Regions from separate parts of the Homo sapiens genome. Here region 2 is linked to region 1. Evidence: promoter capture Hi-C in human tissues and cell types (Jung and others, 2019). All regions are on one chromosome and are shown on one strand. Each heading gives the region's core, a stretch centred on a gene start or on the middle of the fragment in contact. The rest is flanking DNA. Distances are from core to core; before and after follow the strand shown.

The links. The method cuts DNA at HindIII sites, captures the fragments that hold promoters and counts their contacts. A contact is called where the count stands out against the background at its distance.
Region 2: a fragment that was not itself captured here is called in contact with the fragment with the promoter of ZNF439 in region 1 in 3 of the 25 tissues and cell types used here (bladder, mesenchymal stem cells and pancreas).

The regions. Positions count from the first base shown.
Region 1 is chr19:11,846,795-11,851,098 of GRCh38, reverse strand. ZNF439 (zinc finger protein 439) reads right to left here and starts at 2,373. Exons shown (of 4, transcript NM_001348719.2): 1 at 2,169-2,373. The coding sequence starts at 2,231. The HindIII fragment of the contact is 2,018 bases long and covers 686-2,703 here.
Region 2 is chr19:11,906,237-11,910,272 of GRCh38, reverse strand. It overlaps ZNF69 (zinc finger protein 69), which reads right to left. Exons shown (of 4, transcript NM_001364730.1): 4 at 3,577-4,036. Among named protein-coding and RNA genes, the nearest start is that of ZNF700, 17 kb to the left of the region's middle. The HindIII fragment of the contact is 5,350 bases long and covers 1-4,036 here.

The DNA of each region.
Region 1 (4,304 bases), core at 1,124-3,623:
GGTCTCGCTGTGTTGGCCAGGTTGGTCTTCAACTCTTTTTTGTTTGTTTGTTTTGTTTTTGTTTTTTGAGATGGGGTCTCACTCTGTTACCCAGGCTGGAGTGCAGTGGCGCATCCTCGGCTGGGCTGCAACCTCTGCCTCCCAGGTTCAAGTGATTGTCCCACCTCAGCCTCCTGAGTAACTGAGACTACAGGCACAGGCCACCACATCCGGCTAATTTTTCTTATTTTTGGAAGAGACGGGGTTTCGCTAAGTTGCCCAGGCTGGTCTCGAACTCCTGAGCTCAAGTGATCCTCTCGCCTGGGCCTCCCAAAGTGCTTGGATTACAGGCCTAAGCCATCATGCTGGCCCAGAGTAGCTTTCAATAAACTCTCTTCGCACTGCACTTTGTGACTCGTCTTGAATTCCTTCCTGTGTGAGATCCAAGAACTCTCTTGGGGTCTGATCAGGACCTCTTTTTTCAGTAATATAAGCAAGAACATAACTTCCAATTTTGGAGTACTGAGTCCATTTTTCTGGAGTCTGTGTTTTGGTCATTGCTATCTTTCTGCTTGAATAAACTCTTCCAACTGAAATCTGAACCTTTTGATTATTTCCGGTTGACAAGTCCAAATAAGGCGACTGCATCTCTGCAACCAATCAAGCATTTATCTGGTTTGTCTCCTCATGTACCTTATAAAAGCCTAGCCTTAAACATGTAAAACAAAAATAAAAACATATCTTCTGGCATGGCGATGTGGCTCACATCTGTAATCCCAGCACTTTGGGAGGCCGAGGGGGGTGGATCACTTGAGGTCAGGAGTTTGAGAACAGCCTGGCCAACATGGTGAAACCCCATCTCTACTAAAAATACAACAATTAGCTGGGGGTGGTGGTGCGTGCCTGTAATCCCAGCTACTCAGGAGGCTGAGGCAGGAGAATCCCTTGAACCCAGAAGGCAGAGGTTGCAGTGAGCCGAGATCGAGCCATTGCACACCAGCCTGGGCGACAGAAGGAGACTCCGTCTCAAACAAAAACAAAAACAAACAAAGTACCTTCCCAGCTAAGTGAAGTGACTGGCTCTTGGCCAAGGGAACCCCCAAAACACCCTGAAAATTGAGTGCCTCTGTATGACAGGATGGGAGGTGAGACAGGTCTCCTTATACCCTCTCCCTTTAGGAGTTTACATGCAGCAACTGACGCACATTCATGTAAAAACAGACATTCTCTGACTGGAAAAACAGACTCCTTGTGGCAACAAGATACCAAATTACAAACAAGACCTAAGGCCACGCAAGGCAAAGGTAAAGTTACGTCTTAGAATTCATAAAATCTAGAGAAACAGGACTGTTTTTTGGCTGGGATGGAATGAAGTGGCAGATAACAGACCCCCTTCCTTCAGCATTCCTTCCTACCTCCTCCAAACTTTAGACAAAGCTTCACACTCTCAACCAGCTGCCACCTACAGAATCCCTCAACCACCTGTGCCTCCTAACCCCCCTTCCACAGGTCCCACCCTTTCTGCCAATGGAATTTACACCTTCCAGCCTTGATCCATCATTTTCCCTGCAATTCCTGTCTCTCTGAAATGAATAAAACCAAACTGTCCTGAGCCGCCTCCGGACCACTTACTCCAGGCTGCTTGGGGTTGTGTTTCCCTCGGCCAAGGTCTCTCCTACTCGGCTCTGAATACACTTCTGTATTTTACATAGTCTGTTTTTTTTCCGTTGACAAACCACAAGCCAGGACCGGGTGTTTCTCATTCGTGAATGGCTGTTTCCTCAAATGAACTTTTTGTTAACGTACCTCAGTATAATTTTTAACAGGAGAAAGTGGAGGCTGTGGGCCCCACAGACCGCTGCTCCTCCTACGGACGAAATCCACACCCGAGTCGAAATCCGCGCATGACCCTCCCGTGGCCCCCGCACAAGCTGGGGCGTCGGGCTGCGGGCGCGGAGCTGCACAAAAGGGCTTCGGGGCCAAGGCCGCAGTCGACGGGCAGGGACGGGACAGGACGCCCGGAGTCCCGGCTGCCGGCCCACCCACATCCAGCGGCCGCGGGGACCGAGGGCCGAGCAGCTCTAGGAGGACTCGGTCCCAGACCCCGGAGTCGCCCACAGGGAGGCCCGGGTCCCGCCAGTTCCAGGCAGCCCCTCCCCCATCGCACCACTCCCGGCCAGCACACGCACCATTTCCCGGCTTTCAGATGTACCGGGGTCCTCTCTACAGCTCCTGTGAGTAAAGCAGGGCATAGCGCAGGTGACAGAGCGACAGAAATCTGGGTAGAGGCACTAGGTCCCTCTCGGGGCTGGAAAGGCCAGATCCCAACCGCCGCCCTCGCAGCGACAAAGGTGACGGCAGGAATGCAACATCCTCCGTGCCTGGATGCACAGTGGGCAGGGCCCCGAGCCAGTGCCTCTGATTGGATGGAATGTTCGGCCCCGCCCCCCACGTCTAAGTGACAGCGGAAGCCCTGGGTATCAGGCCCTGCGGAGCCAGACTGACAGATTCTAGCAACAGCTTCTCTAAGCTTACACGAGCTGCTTCCTGCACTCGGGTTATTGGATAGTTGCATTTCAGCCAAACTTGCTATTGTTAGAAGAGAACACTAGCGTCTTCCTCACTCAAAGGACTGTCCCCGCTCCTTCGTTCTGCACGGGGTCACAGGAGTGTGCAGGGAATTTCAGACTCAGTGTCCACAGGAGCCATCTCCTGCCTCAGAGCAGCAGGGGAACCGAGACCAGGCCAGGCAAGACTGCACCAGGAGGAGAGGCATATTTCCTCGAGCGGGCCGGAATTGGGGATGAGGCATGGCCAAGACTTGCTCACACACCCCCATCCCCTCCTCACAGTATGAAAATGCTCCGTCCTTCCAGATCTTCATTTTCACCTGCAGGAAACTCTCACCTGGGGTTAAGCTTCGGACCTAAATAAACTGTCAACCTCATAAACCTTTTATCCAGGTGACGCCACCAAACAATTGTGTCTCTAGCCTGATTTTCACACATTTTCTTTATATATACAAATAACTCTGACTCCAGCGACCCCATGTATGTCAAACCCCAAACCCTGCCCAGAAGACAGCCCCAGGCTCCAGAGGTACAACACCAGAAAGGACAGAACCCCACAAATGCGTCTGCACGAAGGTCTTCTGCTTTCCAGGGCCCTACAGCTTCTCGGAATCCACACTCCTTCTGGAGCTGCTCTGAGCAGCTGGAGGCCACCTGTAGGGGAGGGCGGGCTGCCCAGGAAGCCCCCAGGAAAAGCTCCTTTCCCTTCCTTTGCAGGCTCCAGACTGGCCTCAGCGTGGAGTCACTGGCCTCGGGCTCTGCTGCCCCTGCAGGTTATTCAGCTACTTCTCACCCCATTGATCAGTTCCATGACACAAACACCCTCAATCCCATTGTGTGAATAAGACACCAGCAGAGTCCCTGCTCTCCTCCTATGTTTATGTATAAAGTGGGGAAGGAAAATTCTAAGATAACTTAAGTACATTTAAAAGACTTCCAGATCGCGGTGGAGGTGGCAGCGGAGGGACCCACGGTCACTGACACTGCAGCACCTCCAGGCCTGTCTGGTCAGAGAAAGGGTGGAAAGCTGGAGATGGATGTGGATACGTGGAGGGAGCAGCCCTGGGAACTGGGCTCTGCAGCAGCGCGGCTCTAGGGCCTGGAGCCCGGGAGAGCACAGATGGGGGCTCCTGGGACAGGATGCTCAAAGAAGAGTCAGGTGGCTTCCATGAAATGGGGTGCTATGGCAGCTGGTGAGGGCCTGTGGCTATCATAATTTGGGACGTGAAAACTTGGATTCCGTGGGAATTTATGAAGAGGAAGGCTCTGATGACAAAGAAGTCATCGATGAGGAGGGGGATGAGGGTCACTGGCAAGCTCGCTTCCTTATGGAAAGAAAAGTGAACACCCAACTACTGCTGCAAAATGGGGTGAAAGGATGAGACTCTCACTGTCAGGGAATAAACTGCTGCAGAACTCTTAGAGATTGCAAAGACCTTTCAACAACAGCCTGGGAGGCCGGGTGCCATGGCTTACACCTGCAATCCCAACATTTTAGGAGGCCAAAGTGGGAGGATCACTTGAAGCCCGAAGTTGAAGACCACCCTGAGCAGTGAAGTGAGACACTCCCATCTCCATAATTTTTTTTTTATTAGCCTGGAGAGGTGGTGTGTACCCTTAGTCTCAGCTACTCAGGAGCCTGAGGCAGGAGGATTACTCGAGCCCCAAAGTTTGAGGCTGCTGTGAGCTTTGATCAGGCTACTGTACTTCAGCAAGACACGGTCTCAAAAAAAAAAAAATCCCACCAAATTCCCT
Region 2 (4,036 bases), core at 735-3,234, 60 kb before region 1:
TGGCATGGAATCTACAAATTACCTTGGGCAGTATGGCCATTTTCATGATATTGATTCTTCCTATCCACGAGCATGGAATGTTCTTCCATTTGTTTGTGTCCTCTTTGATTTCGTTGAGCAGTGGTTTGTAGTTCTCTTTGAAGAGGTCCTTCACATCCCTTGTAAGTTGGATTCCTAGGTATTTTATTCTCTTTGAAGCAATTGTGAATGGGAGTTCACTCATGATTTGGCTCTCTGTTTGTCTGTTGTTGGTGTATAGGAATGCTTGTGATTTTTGCACATTGATTTTGTATCCTGAGACTTTGCTGAAGTTGCTTATCAGCTTAAGGAGATTTTGGGCTGAGATGATAGGGTTTTCTAAATATACAATCATGTCATCTGCAAACAGGGACAATTTGACTTCCTCTTTTCCTACTTGAATACCCTTTAGTTCTTTGTCCTTCCTGATTGCCCTGGCCAGAACTTCCAACACTATGTTGAATAGGAGTGGTGAGAGAGGGCATCCCTGTCTTGTGCCAGTTTTCAAAGGGAATGCTTCCAGTTTTTGCCCATTCAGTATATGATATTGACTGTAGGTTTGTCATAAATAGCTCTTATTATTTTGAGATACATCCCATCAATACCCAGTTTATTGAGAGTTTTTAGCATAAAGGGCTGTGGAATTTTGTCGAAGGCCTTTTCTGCATCTATTCAGATAATCTTGTGGTTTTTGTCTTTGGTTCTGTTTATATGATGGATTACGTTTATTGCTTTGCATATGTTGAATCAGCCTTGCATCCCAGGGATGAAGCCAACTTGATCGTGGTGGATAAGCTTTTTGATGTGCTGCTGGATTTGGTTTGCCAGTATTTTATTGAGGATTTTTGCATCGATGTTCATCAGGTATATTGGTCTAAAATTCTTTTTGTTGTGTCTCTGCCAGGCTTTGGTATCAGGATGTTGCTGGCCTCATAAAATGAGTTAGGGAGGATTCCCTCTTTTTCTATTGATTGGAATAGTTTAAGAAGGAATGGTACTAGCTCCTCTTTGTACCTCTGGTAGAATTCAGCTGTGAATCCATCTGGTCCTTGACTTTTTTTGGTTGGTAGTCTATTAATTATTGCCTCAATTTCAGAGCCTGTTATTGGTCTATTCAGGGATTCGACTTCTTCCTGGTTTAGTCTTGGGAGGGTGTATGTGTCCAGGAATTTATCCATTTCTTCTAGATTTTCTAGTTTATTTCCATAGAGGTATTTATAGTACTCTCTGATGGTAGTTTGTATTTCTGTGGGATCGGTGGTGATATCCCCTTTATCATTTTTTATTGCATCTATTTGATTCTTCTCTCTTTTCTTCTTTATTAGTCTTGCTGGCGGTCTATCAATTTTGTTGATCTTTTCAAAAAAACAGCTCCTGGATTCACTGATTTTTTGAAGGGTTTTTTCTGTCTCTGTCTCCTTCAGTTCTGCTCTGATCTTAGTTATTTCTTGCCTTCTGCTAGCTTTTGAATGTGTTTGCTCTTGCCTCTCTAGTTCTTTTAATTGTGATGTTAGGGTGTCAATTTTACATCTTTCCTGCTTTCTCCTGTGGGCATTTAGTGCTATAAATTTCCCTCTACAAACTGCTTTAAATGTGTCCCAGAGATTCTGGTATGTTGTGTCTTTGTTCTCATTGGTTTCAAAGAACATCTTTATTTCTGCCTTCATTTGTTATGTACCCAGTAGTCATTCAGGAGCAGGTTGTTCAGTTTCCATGTATTTGAGTGGTTTAGAGTGAGTTTCTTAATCCTGAGTTCTAGTTTGATTGCTCTGTGGTCCGAGAGACAGTTTGTTATAATTTCTATTCTTCTACATTTGCTGAGGAGTGCTTTACTTCCAACTATGTGGTCAATTTTGGAATAAGTGTGATGTGGTGCTGAGAAGAATGTATATTCTGTTGATTTGGGGTGGAGAGTTCTGTAGATGTCTATTAGGTCCTCTTGGTGCAGAGCTGAGTTCAATTCCTGTATATCCTTGTTAACTTTCTGTCTCATTGATCTGTCTAATGTTGACAGTGGGATGTTAAAGTCTCCCATTATTATTGTGTGGGAGTCTAAGTCTCTTTGTAGGTCTCTAAGGACTTGCTTTATGCATCTCAGTGCTCCTGTATTGGGTGCATAAATATTTAGGATAGTTAGCTCTTCTTGTTGAATTGATCCCTTTACCTTTATGTAATGGCCTTGTCTCTTTTGATCTTTGTTGGTTTAAAGTCTGTTTTATCAGAGACTAGGATTGCAACCCCTGCTTTTTTTGTTTGTTTTCCATTTGCTTGGTAGATCTTCCTCCATCCCTTTATTTTGAGCCTATGTATGTCTCTGCACGTGAGATGGGTCTCCTGAATACAGCACACTGATGGGTCTTGATTCTTTATCCAATTTGCCAGTCTGTGTCTTTTAATTGGAGCATTTAGCCCATTTACATTGAAGGTTAATATTGTTATGTGTGAATTTGATCCAGTCATTATGATGTTAACTGGTTATTTTGCTCGTTAGTTGATACAGTTTCTTCCTAGCCTCAATGGTCTTTACAATTTGGCATGTTTTTGCAGTGGCTGGTACCGGTTGTTCCTTTCCATGTTTAGTGCTTCCTTCAGGAGATCTTTTACAGCAGGCCTGGTGGTGACAAAATCTCTCAGCATTTGAATCTGTAAAGGATTTTATTTCTCCTTCACTTATGAAGCTTAGTATGGCTGGATATGAAATTCTGGGTTGAAAATTCTTTCCTTTAAGAATGTTGAATATTGGCCCCCACTCTTTTCTGGCTTGTAGAGTTTCTGCCAAGAGATCCGCTGTTAGTCTGACGGGCTTCCCTTTGTGGGTAACCCGACCTTTCTCTCTGGCTGCCCTTAACATTTTTTCCTTCATTTCAACTTTGGTGAATCTGACAATTATGTGTCTTGGAGTTGCTCCTCTCGAGGAGTATCTTTGTGGCGTTCTCTGTATTTCCTGAATTTGAATGTTGGTCTGCCTTGCTAGGTTGGGGAAGTTCTCCTGAATAATATCCTGAAGAGTGTTTCCCAACTTGGTTCCATCCCTGTCACTTTCAGGTACACCAATCAGACATAGATTTGGTCTTTTCACATAGTCCCATATTTCTTGGAGGCTTTTTCATTTCTTTTTACTCTTTTTTCTCTAAACTTCTCTTCTCACTTCATTTCATCCATTTGATCTTCAATTACTGATACCTTTTCTTCCACTTGATTGAATCAGCTACTGAAGCTTGTGCATGCATCACATAGTTCTCGTGCCATGGTTTTCAGCTCCATCGGGTCATTTAAGGTCTTCTCTACACTGTTTATTCTAGTTAGCCATTTTGTCTAATCTTTTTTCAAGGTTTTTAGCTTCTTTGTGATGGGTTCGAACATCCTCCTTTAGCTTGGAGAAGTTTGTTATTACCGATCATCTGAAGCCTTCTTCTCTCAGCTCGTCAAAGTCAAAGTCCAGCTTTGTTCCATTGCTGGCGAGGAGCTGCGTTCCTTTGGAGGAGAAGAGGCGCTCTGATGTTTAGAATTTTCAGCTTTTCTGCTCTGGTTTCTCCCCATCTTTGTGGTTTTATCTACTTTTGGTCTTTGATGATGGTGATGTACAGATGGGTTTTGGTGTGGTTGTCCTTTCTGTTTGTTAGTTTTCCTTCTAACAGTCAGGACCCTCAGCTGAGGTCTGTTGGATTTTGCTTGAGGTCCACTCCAGACCCTGTTTGCCTGGGTATCACCAGCAGGGGCTGCAGAACAGCAAATATTGCAGAACGGCAAATGTTGTTGCCTGATCCTTCCTCTGGAAGCTTCGTCACAGAGGGGCACACGGCCGTATGAGGTGTCAGTTGGCCCCTACTGGGAAGTGCCTCCCAGTTAGGCTACTTGGAGATCAGGGACCCACTTGAGGAGGCAGACTGTCCATTCTTAGATCTCAAACTCCATGCTGGGAGGACTGCTACTCTCTTCAAAGCTGTCAGACAGGGACATTTAAGTCTGCAGAAGTTTCTGCTGCCTTTTGTTCAGCTATCCAGAATGCATTCTTATG